3 separate regions of the Homo sapiens genome follow, and regions 1 and 3 are each linked to region 2. The links are contacts of gene promoters, found by promoter capture Hi-C in blood cells and fetal thymus (Javierre and others, 2016). All regions are on one chromosome and are shown on one strand. The core of a region is centred on a gene start or on the middle of the fragment in contact, and the rest is flanking DNA. Distances in the headings are between cores, read along the strand shown. Region 1 holds the start of TLL2 (tolloid like 2). Region 2 holds the start of SLIT1 (slit guidance ligand 1). Region 3 overlaps TLL2 (tolloid like 2).

Region 1 (4,670 bases), core at 328-2,827, 670 kb before region 2:
CCTGAGTCCTCCTATAATTACTGCCACCAATTTAGAGATGAGTAACCTGGAACTGATAGAGGTTTCCAGGGCGTGAAGGGGCAACCACTGGCCCACAGGCCCCGCAGAGACCTGGCCGGCCACAGCCCCGGGAAGGAGCACCTGCCTCGCCGAGGGTGGAGGTCGCGCTCTTCCCTCCCCATTCTTCTCTGCCGACCGCCAAGTGAAACGGGGCCCCACAAAGCCGGAGATAAACACCACTACTCGCGGGACACTGGCCATGGGCCAGGAGCGTCTGTGCGAGCCTCTGAGCCCAGCATCTCCCTGGGAGCGTGAGCGTGAGCACCCCTCTGTCCGTGCTGGAACTGCCCCACACTCATCAGCTTGCTGGAACATGCGCTTGGCCCTTCGGAGGCTAACGCTTCAACGACTCCAGCTCGGAAGCCGCTCCCCTCAGGACTCACGAGCCGATCAGTGGCCCCGAGGAAGCGGGAGCTGCAGCGCCCGGGCGGCGATTGCGCCCGAAAGGCCCGTACGTCCTGGGGCGCCGCTTCCTGGAGGGATTAGAGCACCTGCCGGCTTCCATCTCCGCCCGCCCAGAGCGACCCTCAGGCCGGTACCGCTACAGGGAAGTTTCCGGCTATTCGAGTCTTGCTCATTCTCCCTCGGCGACCCCTTTCCTTTTGCCCGCTGTGACGCTTTTCTTTTTAAAATCTCCCAAGAGTAACCACAGATCTTGGGAAACTTTGCGCGAAACTTAAAAATGCTGTGAAATCGGAGCCAGGAACTCCATCTGAGCCTCGGAGCGCCGCGCCCAGTCCAGCTCTTCTGCTCCGGCCCGGAGCGTCTGGCGGTGGCCAGTGCTGCCCACTCGCTGTCAGGCGGCCCTGGCACCCACCCCGGCCCCTGGGCGCCCTCTCGGCCTCTGGCACCCGCTCTGATTCGCTTTGGGAACGCGCCAGCTGTCGCCCCCCGGTGCGCACCGCAAACCTGGGGCCGGGACATCCCAGCCTCGGAGTGGTTTTTAAGCAATTCCTCGGAGGCATTGTCTTCCGGGGGAGCCGGGGATCTCAGGGGAGGGGAGGGGAGACCCGCCCCATAGACGGTAGTGCAGGCTTGCCCACCACCTCATTTGCATTTCAAAGGCAAACTTCTGCGGGACTTCCCCAGCGGCGGCACCTACCGGCTTTGCAAGGGTCGTGGTAATGCTCCAGCTGCTGCTCCGTGCCCTCCTCGCCGTCCAGCTCTGAGTAGTCTGCGGTGGCGTCCGGGCGCTCCCCGAGTCCCCCGGCGCCGCGAGGCAGCGGCAGCAGCAGCAGCAGTGACACCAGGGCCCCAAGTGCAGTCGCCCGGGGCATGGTGGCGCGGGGCCGGCTGGGGCAGAGGGAGTTGCGTGCACGAAAGCTCAGCTCGGCCGAAAGACGGCGCACACTGGGTCGGTCGGCTCCGGCCGGGACTCGGTGGTTACACAGGGCTGCTGGGCATGGCTCAGGCGCGGAGCAAGCGGAGCGCGGCGCCCCCTGTCTTCGTCGAGGCAACCGGGAAGCAGCCGCTCGGAGCTACTTGCCCGGCGGCCGAGGCTGCGGCGGCTGCGAGTGTGGCGGTGGCGGCGGTGGTTGGAGCAGTGGCCGCTCCGCCCCTCTCCACCAGGGCTGGACCACACAGCCTTCGCCCGGGGCCCTAAGCAGCCAATCACTCGGGCGCCCGAGGCGAGGCCCCTCCTCTTCCCGGCACCTTCGCAACTTCGGAGGCAGGCGAGCGAGGTGAAGATGCTGGAGCCAAAGGCCGGGGCCAGCTCCGCACCCACCCAGCCTAAGGCGCCTGCCCGGGGCGCCACCTCGGCCTCTGGCTCCCGAGAATGCTGCTCCTGAAGATCGGGACTGGGCTTCTCGCCTTGTTTTATTTCCATAACTCACTTTACAACTCCCCGATGCACACGTGGCCAGAGTGGTTAGAACTCGGAGCGCTGGACCAGGAGCCCTGTGTACGGATTCATGTCACTACCAACTGGCTATGTGCATTCGGGCAGCTGCTTCTTTGCAGGGATGAGTGAATGTCTCTCAGGTCCCTCTCAGCAAAGAAAAAAAAATCGAGGATTTCGATTCTCTCAGCTCTCTCCACATTCCCTAGTCGAGCCATGAAGGGCGCTTGCTGGCGGCAACTAACCTAACCTAGTGGCCGGCGATAGGTAATGAAAAAAGATTTAAGTCCACAGATTTCCCCTCTCGGTGACCCTATCTTTCAGTAAAACCGTCTAAGATGCTTCACACAGTCAAAAAGACACAAATGAACAGCTGTACGTGCTACTTGTGTTAAATTACAGACATGTTTTTATTAAATAAGCCACTCACCGTTAACTTGATGGAATAAAAATGACCAATTTCTGAAGTCTGTTTTTTTTTTGCCAATTAAAAACATATGCCCAAATAATGACACTAATCAAGAGCTATTTGAAACCCACTTCTATTTTGTACCTAAAATGTAAAAATTCTCAGAACTGAGCCATTTTGATTTAGAGATATAAAAAGTATTATTACTGTGAGGCTTTTCAAAGATCTTTTTATGCAAGTAAAATGGCCCTGTCAACTATAACACACAAATGTGTATGTGTAGAAATGTTTTGCATCATGCCCAGTAGAATCTTTTTTCAATTTAAACTGCAAGCAGAAAAATGGACAACTTTCCTTTTGGATTTCCACATGGTTTCACATACATCAATGACAAAATAGTCAACAGGGAGCCCAGAGCTGGGCTTCACATCAAACTCTGAATTTCTTGCACTTATGGTCATCTGTCTTCTCATCTATCAACTGGGATAACAAGTCCTTCACACAAGTAAAGGGCTAAAAGTTAACTATTGGAAGGATGCTACTCATATTTTGTCCTCGTTCTTAGAAAGAAATGCAATGTTGACCCTGCCTCATGCTGTTTTCATCAAATGGGCACATAACATACAGAATGGAGCCAGACAGGGCAAGATCTGGTTAGAAACTGGCAGGTGGAAGGAAGGAATTTGAAGAGGATAAATGCCACCAAATGGCAGGAAGGCCAAGTGGCCAGCGCATAGGCAAAGGAGTGGGAGGGGGTTGAATGGCATGCATTTCTGCCTGAAAGCCAGGAGTCAAACCCAACGCCATAGCTCTCTGCATTCACCCCCATGAAGGTCATCACCTCTCAGTAGACGAGTCCAAAGAGTCAACATCTAAAAGGCCTAACAAACTTCTGTGACACTTCCAGGTCTCCAGATGGCACTAGGCAAACCACCAACTGGCTTCCTTATTAGAAGGGAATTCCTCTGGAAAATAGACATGAGAGGCCACCTCTTGTGCAAGCAATGAGGTTGTGAGCTTTTATGACCTCTAATGCCCAGCTGGTGAGTAGTGGCCAGGTCTTCTCACCAACACCCTTTGTCCAAATATTTTGAAGACAGTGGTGTTGAAGAATGAACAAGCTGCACAGTTTTATGTTATTAAAGTAGAAGGCCAGTTTAGTTGCTACTTTGGCTATCAACCAATAAATGGCAACAAAATATTTGGTTCACTAGAAAGATCAGAAAAGAATAATTGAAAAGGGACACCATAAGATAGAACTATAAAAGCTAAACTCTAATCTGGGTTTAGATGATTTTTATAATGTATTTTTCTTTAATTTAAAAACCATGAAAAAACTGGAGGTAGAGTAACAGGCTTTATGACATAAAACTGCTCAACTTAGCTCCATTATTACATTAATAATTACTTCAGGGTTTCCTCTGCCATATCTCTGGGTCCTCTGTGAACCTGAACAAGTGTTTTTCTCCTCTTAGATGTCCATCTCCCACCCAGAGTAACTGGGTTCTCTTGCCCCTTCAAGTCTACTGAGTTTTATCCACCTGGGCCACTTTCTCATTTTGCCTTTCCAAGCGACTATACATGATAATTTGTTCCAGGCCAGCTCATTCCTTCATTTACATTGCTCACCACTGAGAAGATACTCAGTTTTCTGGAGAATGTAATTAAAGATACTACAATTTTTAGCAGCTGCTTAAAACCCTTCCTGGCTCTCCAAAACCTTTATTCAAGTTCTTCAGGGTGGCATAACAGGTCCTCCGTCCATCATCAAGCCTTCCTTTCACCTTTCCAGTCTTGGCTCCTTACAACTCCCACATTCCAGTCTTCTGGCATTAAAACACCCTGCAGTCATCCTAACAAGGCTGCTTCACACCCTCCATGTCTCTGCCTGGGACACACTGATAATCGCATATCCCACATCCTCATGCCAGCATTGCAGCTACCCTATCTGTGACACTTACCTATCCAGGACTGCCCTTTCTGGTCTATAACTGCAGCAGACCTCTCTGACCAACCCCAACTTAGAATCACCTTCCATGTCTCACTTTCTAGACTCTCCCTTTTCTTCACTGACCTTCAATATTAAGTCTTGCAATCCTAGTGGCTTAGACTGAGACACTAAGAATAACCATAACATTGGCCAGCCCCACTTATATCAATTTTCCCCTGCAACCATCTCCCACATTTTTTTCCTTTGAAATCGCTGTCAAGCAAAGTAATCGTGCAAACTTTGAAAATCATTTCAAATAATCAAGTAATTTAAAATACATTTGTAAACTACACTGATTCCACATGTCCCAATTAGGCTTATTCCCCCCTTTTCTAATGTTATATTGCAGAGTAACAGTTCCACAAAAATAG
Region 2 (4,431 bases), core at 153-2,652:
CTGTAAATACACACACTCAAACACACCCAAACACACACACACACATTCTACTAGCTTACTGGGTCTAGAAAAGAAAAGGATCAAGTTTCCTCAAGAATTCACAAGTGAGACAGAACAGGGGAAGAGAAATGCTATTTTTTTATTACTTGTCATGGTCAATATCTTTAACCTTGGGCCCCCCTCTCCAAGCTCCTGACTTCTTGGCATTATCCACCGGGTTCTCCATCCAAGACACACCTGCCCCTTTTCGGGTGCTGAATGTTACATACCCCAAGCCCCATACCCAAAGCCCTCAGGTCCCATTGTCTGCCTGTGTTGGGGATGGCTGGGTGTGGAGGGAGGCGGGTGAGTAGGGGACCAACGCGTGGCACCTGCAGGGGAAGAATTCTCAAGGCTCTGGGGCAAACAATGGAGAAGAAGGGGCAGACCAGAAACTTCGCCTCCATCCCACCCTGCTGCCCTTCGTCAGGAGCAAGCTCTGGGAGCGGGAATCTGCGCAGCTGGCTCAGAACGCGGCCGTAGCCCCATGTGCCCAAAAGGAGACATTGTGCTTGGCGAGTGTGGGAAGTGTCCCTCCTGGGTGCAAGGAAGGCTTTCTGACACCAGTTCGCAGGCACCCTGGAGGAATAAAGCGCTGGCGCAGTGAGGAGGGCCTGAGGGTGCGGAGTGCAGGGTGCAGGGTGCAGGTGTGAGGACGGAAGCTGACAACCCCGCCGAGGGCCCTTTGAATCCCAGGGATGGGGAAACCACGGCGCTCCTGGCTCCTGGCTCGGGAAAGACCCCGGCAGGCACTGACCCGTCTGTGGGCTGCGGAGCCCGGACGGGCCCCAATGGTCCTGCCCCCACCCCCAAGTCCGGAATTGCGTCTGGGTGGGAGGGCAACCTCGGAGCCAGGGAGCCAGGGGCGGGGACCATACTCACAGGCGCTCGGTGTTCCGAGGTATATTCTTGGGAATGGCCTGCAGCCCCGTGCCGTGGCAGTCCACCGTGGTTCCGGTGCAGGTGCAGAGGGCGGGGCACGCCGAGGCACCCAGGCGCCACGCGGCTGCCCACAGCAGCAGCCAGAGCTCCGGCCGGACCGGCCCCGCCGAGGACCCCCACCCGGGAGTCAGCGCCATGGTGCCCTCACAGCGTCCCGCTCGCGAGCCAGACGGCAGCAGCCGCTGACCATCCCCGTCCGGGGCCGCCTCCAGGTGCAGTCCCGGGGCAGAGCCACCGAAGAGCCCGCGGGCTTGCGCGCGGCGCCCCTGCGGGCTGGGAGGCACCTTGCTCCTCCAAGCGACGGCGCCTGTGCGCGGACGGAGGGAGGGCGCCTTGGGCGGAGGGGGCTCGGCTCCTCTGCCGTTTCGCCGCCTGCGTCTCCCTCTCCCTCCCTCCAGCTCCCAACTGACTGCTGCGAGGAGGAAAATGGGCAGGCCCCGCGCGCGCACGCACCCTGCGCACACACCACACACACACACACGATCACACACACACCCGCGCGCTCGCTCCCACCCGGCAGTCATCCATCAATCGAAAAGCACACATCCAGGGCCAGGCTCCTCCCCGCCCTCCCCCGCCGCAGCCCCCCTCTCCCGACGACCACTCAGCGGCTGCAAGCCGCCTACAGTTTCAAAGGTGGAACCTCCGAGGCGCCGTCAGCGGGCACGGGGCTGCGGGGGATGGGAGAAGAGGGAAGGGGGTGTGACTCGACCCGCCAAGTCCTGGCTGTACACACACACACACACACACACACACACACACACACACACACACGGCGAGGATGCGCACATTTAGACGCACGCACCCCGGCACCCGCGGCCCCAGCTGCTAGTCCAGGGTGGGAGGGAGATCTTATTTTGCCGCTTGGACGCCTTCCCGGGGAGTCAGACCCGTTTCCCCCCATCCCCCGACGGCAGCAGCGGCCTCTCGGCCCCACCCGACTCGCTGTGTCAATTCTTGGTTAAGGGAAACCCTGTGCCTGTGCCCCAGGTAGCATCCTCAAGCCACCAACCTTACTTAGCCTGGACTTTGAGGATGGAGCTTTGTCGGGGGGGAGGGTCCACGAAAGCGCTAGGCGGAGTACAGTCTCCTTCCTACCTCAATGCACCCACTTCTCAGAGGGGAACAAGCTAGCCGCATGCCCAGGATGAGAATGGCTCTGATTGGAACACTTGCTCAGCAGGGCGTATTTGTACCATACAGTTACACGGGCTTCTTCCCCCGTTGTAGAAGAGAGGGACAGACATTAAGGGGACTTGGAAATCTGGCAAACGTCTTCCTCCACTCACACCAGCGTTCCTCCATTTCTGACAGGTGGAAACAGATGAAAATGAATATTCCATCTTGACATCAAAGGAGACAGAGAGGGCTGGCATAGCGCTGGGCGGCCTGCTTGGGAGAGAACCCCACAGGCCAGCCCCGTCAGACCCAGGCCTCACACCCGGCTGGGTAGGGACCTTCGTCACCGTAAGGCATGTGTGGACGTGGGTGTGAACGGGACATCCAGGTGGGGAGAGAATTCTCCTCAACCCCAGAAAAGACGAAAGATCTCCTCAACGCCAAGGACAGCTGTGGCTCGCTGGGGCAGTGTCCAGCAGTCGGGGCCTTGACGTGAGGCTGCTTGGCAAGAGGACACAGCTGGGTAGCCCGAGAAGCACCTCCCGTCTCAGGAGCGGCCTGGGTCCAGACACAGCATGGACGCATTTGGTGGGGAGAGTGTCGGGCAGGGTGGGGATAGGGGAGGTTGATAGACTCCACAAGGTTGAAGCCTTATCACCCACCAGGTACCCAAGGCTCAGGCGTTTTCTTTGCTTTTCTTTTCCATGTTGATGAGAATTTTGCAGTCTCTCTACTGTCATAGCACAGTATGTTACAATTTAGGTGGCTGATTTTATGGGCTTTTGACAGTTCTTTTAAAGTTTTCACACATCCCTGTCCATGACCTCCATCCGGTAAGTGGGTTCTTGAGCATAAGTTCAGTTTCTCAGGGGGCAGGGCTTTCTCAGGGGTGCCTGTGTGGTGGGATATTAGGGAAGCTTCCCACAAACCAGGCCGGAGTCTGAGAGGGCTGCCCCTGCCCTGCAGCTCACCAGCTCCTGCTCCATGGGGCCCCAGCCCCTCTATCCATGCTCTCCCCGCAGCCTCAGAGTGACATTCCTCCATGCCCGCTGCTTTGTTTATCCCCTCTTAGTACCTGCAGCTGCTTCTCCACACCCCTGCCCACCCCCTGGCATCCTCACTCGCTCACCCAGACACACACCCCAGCACCTGGCACTTAGTAGGCCTGTCACAGACAGCACTCAGGCTGTTGAAGATGTCTCCAGCCTTCTGCTCCAGCAGTAGCTCCCTGGTCCCAGGACCTCGGAGGGCCCCTTGGAAGCCAAGACCCATGTGGAGAAGGGAGAGAGTGTTGATTAGCCAGGCGACATGCCCCTAGGTCCTCAGAGTGACAGAGTGAAGGGGTATGAGGAAGGGTGGGAGTGAGCAGGGGTGCAAGATCAGCCCTGCCTATGGCTCCTGAGAACCAGCCCCTGCCCTAGAAGCTTCCAGACCAGCCTGGACAGTGAATCCCAAGCAGGCCCTGGGCTGAGTTGCTGCTGCCTGGCAAAGCCTGGCTTTTCCTCTGAAGGGAGGGAAGGAAGGAGCCCCCCAGACCCAGGACAAAGACTCCCCCAGCAGCCCATCACAGGGGGCCCTGCCCAAGCAGCGGGCAGCTCCCCAGCTTGGCTCCTGTCCCTGGTTCCTCCACCCCAGAACCTGGCCAGCTCCCCAATTCAGGAGGCGGCTCGCCATGAATGAGCGCAGCTCATTAGCGTGCCCGGCACATTTACTTGTTAAACAACTGCCTGGCTGGCCGCACACCCCCAAGCCCCACTCTGTTTTTTCAATTTCCTCTCCCATGCCCCTCCCTCTCTTGGGTCTCCCTACCCCCTCCCTGCAGCCGGGCCACCTGCTCCCGCTGCACGGGTGGGGAGGAGGCAGGCCTGGCACATTGCTTCTGCCAGGAATACTCCACCAAGCCTGTCCCTGCTCACCTGCCACCAGCAGGGCAACCCCCTGGAAGGGAAATTTGAGGTTGAGTCTCCCCAGCCCAGTGACGTGAGTCCCCTCTGAGTCCTCTCAGCCACATGTGCTGGGAGTTGAGGGCCACTTCCCCCGTGTGACTCAAGAAGAGAGCGTTCTCTTTATGGCTTCTGCACAGAGTCCTCTCTCCCACCGCCACCAGCCCCTTTTGGAGCACCAAGAAGCGGGAGAACCTGGGTGAGGCTGAGGAGCATTGTGGGATGGATTTCCAAACTGCAAAAAGGAAAAGTGAGACAGAATGCCTTCTAAGTAGACATCTGATAAACACCACTTACGGAGTATCTGTGTACTACATGTGCTGTACTGGAACTCAGCAATTCAACAGGGGACAAGAATGGCCCTGGCCCTCAGTGGGCTCACTGTCCG
Region 3 (4,373 bases), core at 260-2,759, 740 kb before region 2:
GGTCATATTTCCAGACCCAGAAAGTTGGTATGTAATACACTGTTAAACCTGAAAATAATTATCTTACCACCAGAATTTCTAGAACAGAAGTCATACACTTGCAGTGCTGGGATAAACCCAACCCGCAGATGTGTTTCTGTTTGGCCTGGACACTTTTGGCCCACACTATGTTTTTTTAAAAATCTCCCTGTACGAGCCAACTTTTAAAAATCAAGGGATTTCACATAAGAATCCAGATTTTCTAGTTTTTCTTTAAAAACTGAAAGATTTGGCAACAGCAGGCCCATCTTCCATCATAGTACAACCAGCTGGAGTTTAGAAGCACCTGCTCTCCATAGTCAGAGCACATGTTCTGTTTGCTAGAATCTCTCTCCCCCTTCACATTGTCCTATTCAGCTTACTTCACCTTTTAGATGACCTACCTGCCCTCTACGGAAGATATTCTAATTTGCTATTCCAGCCCTAAACTACAAATTGCATCAAGATGTCAAATGTGAATTTTTCTGGTAGACTGGAAGCTCCATGAGGGCAAGAAATGTTGCCAGCTTGTTCTCCACTTTATTCTCCACACCCTGCATGGTGCCTGACTGGTGGTGAGCATTCAATATTTTTATATTTTGAATGTATGAATTAAAGAAGGGATGAGCTATTCTAAAAATAAACAGCCCAACAGTCCAAACAACTCTGTGTTGGAAACCTCTCCAAAATGTTGGCAACACTGAAGCCCTTAATGTTTACATCCTGAGAATTATCCAGTCTTAAGTAATCACAGGCAGCAATGTAGCAAGTGGAAGTTTGTTACTCATTTCCCATATGGTTTTCAACAAGTCTCTTAATTTTCCTCTGTCGCCAACTCTCCTTTGGAGAATGGGCAAAAATACTTCTCTATTCAAAGAAATAACACTAAGATACTCCGTGTTTCTCTGACAAGCTGTGCTGCATATACATGTGACCTGGTATTATAAGGGTCTGTTTTATGCAGCCAAGTCAGCATGGGAAAATCTTAAGTGCACCTGGAAAGAAGCTAGGGTGTAATTTCCAGAAATGGGTTATTGAATGACAGCTTCCCCTTTGGTCCAGTGAGAAATTTAATTTGCTAAGGACTCAACACAGGAAGCATTTGCCGATTAAAAATATGTCTAAACAGATGTTCTGCTTAGCCTGGAAGAAGGATCTTAATGCAACTGTCATTATTGGATTTTCTTGGATTACTACTATCTGGAATCGGAGTCCAAATAGAAGGATGTAATTATTTATTATGGCCAAGAGTCCTGCATTTGAAGAGGAGCTCAGGGCGTCTGACAGGATTTAACACGCTGGGGGTAGGGTTGAGGGGGGATAAAGCCCATTTAAATTCTCTGGCTCTGGGAGCGAGCCCTGTCCTCTCTGAAAGAGCAAAGCGGTTGTTGCTTTTCAATCTTCTATTTCCAGCTGAAGGCACAGCCATGTCATAAACAGAACCAGGCCTGAGGCAGCCTTCTCCAGTGAGGAAGTGCAATTTTTAGATTAGGCAATTGGTCATTCCCACACGGGAAGTAAACACGCTGACAGCCCAGCCATCTGCATAACCCTCACCCCAAAGGTGATGGGTGAATTTGCACCTCACCTGCAGCAATCTCGAAAGGCTGAAGGCCGCTAAGTAAAGGGGAGACTAGACCATTCTGCACAGTGGTTCTCAAACCTGGCTGCACATTAGATTCAACTGGGGAGCTTTTAAAAAATTCTGGTGTCTGCCTCCCTGCTCTGAGACTGAGAATCAATTGGCCTTAGAGTGGAGTCAAGGCACCTGCAGTTTCTAAAGCTCCCCAGGTGATTACAAAGCTCAGTGAAGTTTGGGAACCACTGATACAGCCCAAAGGTTAAGATCAAGGGGTTTGGGGTCAGGGGGACTTAAGCTCAAGATAAATGCTGCCATTTGCTACCTACATGGCTTTGGACAAATCACTTCCCCTTCGGAGCCTCACTTCCTGCTGCAGGGCGGTGGTGACCCAGGTAATGAATGTCAAATGCCTGCGGTGAGTAAGGGCTCAGTGTGAGCTGCCACAATGGCTACGAAAGTCTGCATTTGAGACAGGCTAAAAAGGAAGGCCTGAAGTTCGTGGGGCTCAGTTGTTACACCCAAGTAAACTGACGTAAGTGATGTTAGGAATTCCAGCGTCGAGTGCTGTTTTGCACCCAAGTTTGTGGGATGCCTGTCCTCTGGTTCAACCAGATTCCATTATTATTTGCTTTCACACAAAGCCCCTAGGAAATGTTACTGAAAGTGAAAGGTCCATTCTCTTTCATGAATATGGTTCTGGAAATCAGGCTCTATCAAAACAGTCACAGCTTCATTCATGGAGCAGTTGCACACTCCATTTCATTAATCCCATTATCAGCCCTGAAATGCATGCTGAGCTCTCATCTCCAGAGGAGGGAGAGCCTTCTGACCAAAGGGTCTGCCGGAGGGGATGTTGAGTGAGCATTTCAGCCCTTTCCCCCTCCCCAAAGCTGGAGGCACAAATCCCCACCGTCAGGGCTGAGGGGAGCCACATAATGCCAGGAAATAAACCTGCTGCCGAAACTGGGCGCTTCCCTCAGATCCTTTCTCCTGCCTGGGCGGTCTCTTTTCCTGGGGGTGGTGGAAGGGGGGCAAGTTGTGATTAAAGGGAACCTGAGATTGACACAACGTGTCTTATCTTTCATTCAAATAAAAGCAAGAGGCATCCAGCGCTGGCGCCGACAGCATCCTGAGGGTTGGGATGGGAAGGATGGAGGGACTGGTTAGAACGGCCTGCCCTCACCTCACTTCGAGATTTCCTTCCTCTTCAGGACTGCCCTGGATGCTTAAAGACATGCTTGTCTGCTGCTGTAATGCAGAGTGAAGGGACTGGCCTAGCCTGCACATTCCTTATCCGCTTCGAACAAACCAGGGCCATTTGGGGGAACTGCAGACTAGGGCACTGCTATCATCACCCTCCCTGAAAAGCCCAAGATTTTTTGTTGCAGTGTGGGTGCTGTGCACAACCCCACCAGAGGCAGAATTTTAATGGGCCACAGCCGCCGTCTTCCTTCCTGTCCTCTGTAATTGTGTTTCTATGCAGCTGTTGCACAGCTGTGGAATCCCAGTCCAGAGGTAGATGATGCACTTTCAATGCTGGATAATATAATTCCTGGAGGTGGAGGTGGAAGAGCTACATTCCTTGAGCCTCTTTTAAGTTCCAGACACCTGGCTATGTGCTTTACATAAATATTATTTCTAATTCCCTCTAAACCTCATACAAGCAGTTAAATAACTTATCCAAAGTCATAGCTACTAAGTGGGTGAGCTGGGATTCAAACCCAAGTGTGTCTGACTGTCCAAGTTTATAGTTGGGTCATTTTACACCCAACGAACTAGTAAATATCAAAAACTCTGACAATATCTATTGCTGGGGAGCAGAGGCAAGGGGGGAAGGTGGTAGATAGTCTCCAAATATGGCCGCCAAGTCCCCTTATCCCTGTGAGGTCATGCCACTTCTCTCGTGAAGGAGTAGAATCTATTTCTCTCTCCTTGAATCTGGTCTGGTCGTTTGGCTTATTTTGTTAACAGAACGTAGCAGAAGTAGCATTCTTGAAGTTTTGAGTCCAGGCCTTAAATGGACTGGCAACTTCTGTTCCTTCCCTCTGGGAAGCCAATCACCATGCTATGAAAAGTTTCTGATTAGACAACTGAATGGTGACAGTCTGCATGGAGAGCAGGGCCACAAGGAGGCACACTGGGGCACTGGAGGTGTAGCTAAAGTTTTTTTGGACCTTCCAGCCCAGTCCACCTGCTAGATAAATTCAGTCAAGTGAGTGACCCCAGATGGCATCAGCCAAAGAACCACCCTACTGAACCCAGTCAACCCCCAGAATCATGAAAATAACAAACTATTGTTTGAAGTCACTAAGTTTGGGTGTGGTCTTTATGCAACAATAAATCACATAAATAAGGAAGAAAAATGAGTGTGGCATCTTTGTCACTGCAGTGTGATGACAAACTCTGCTGGATTCATTCACACATGCTCCATTTTTACCACTAAGTGCTGATCATTTGTGGCAAAGTGAAGGACCATTGAGTACCAGATGTCTGGGGAGCCCAAAAACTTATAAGTCAAAATATCCTTAAATAAGCAAAGCAGAAAAACGCGGATCTGAAAGCAAGCCCTGCACATAGCCCAAACAACAAGCTGTATAGCTAAGAAACAAATGCAGATTAGTTACATGGGTGACTAAAGGATCTGCCTCTCTCTAAAAGAAGTCAGATTGAAGAGGAAGATCAGCAACCCAATAGGAAAATGGGCACAGGACAGGAAGAGGCGATTCCCACTGACAAACATAGGAAAAAATGTTCAACGGCACCAGCAGTCAGA

Evidence for each region. The method cuts DNA at HindIII sites, captures the fragments that hold promoters and counts their contacts. A CHiCAGO score of 5 or more calls a contact.
Region 1: a contact is called between the fragment with the promoter of TLL2 here and the fragment with the promoter of SLIT1 in region 2, in 1 of 17 cell types (naive CD8 T cells). The highest score is 5.2, in naive CD8 T cells.
Region 3: a fragment that was not itself captured here is called in contact with the fragment with the promoter of SLIT1 in region 2 in 2 of 17 cell types (naive B cells and total B cells); the score reaches 5.9 in naive B cells.

What each region holds. Positions count from the first base shown.
Region 1 is chr10:96,512,349-96,517,018 of GRCh38, forward strand. TLL2 (tolloid like 2) reads right to left here and starts at 1,578. Exons shown (of 21, transcript NM_012465.4): 1 at 1,163-1,578. The coding sequence starts at 1,337. RefSeq lists enhancers at 1-169, 1,359-1,428. The HindIII fragment of the contact is 13,060 bases long and covers 1-4,670 here.
Region 2 is chr10:97,184,557-97,188,987 of GRCh38, forward strand. SLIT1 (slit guidance ligand 1) reads right to left here and starts at 1,403. Exons shown (of 37, transcript NM_003061.3): 1 at 922-1,403. The coding sequence starts at 1,118. The region is part of intron 11 of ARHGAP19-SLIT1 (ARHGAP19-SLIT1 readthrough (NMD candidate)); the gene reads right to left. RefSeq lists enhancers at 1,247-1,747, 1,748-2,248. The HindIII fragment of the contact is 4,998 bases long and covers 1-3,015 here.
Region 3 is chr10:96,439,707-96,444,079 of GRCh38, forward strand. The region is part of intron 3 of TLL2 (tolloid like 2); the gene reads right to left. Among named protein-coding and RNA genes, the nearest start is that of TLL2, 72 kb to the right of the region's middle. RefSeq lists an enhancer at 2,440-3,078. The HindIII fragment of the contact is 6,194 bases long and covers 1-4,373 here.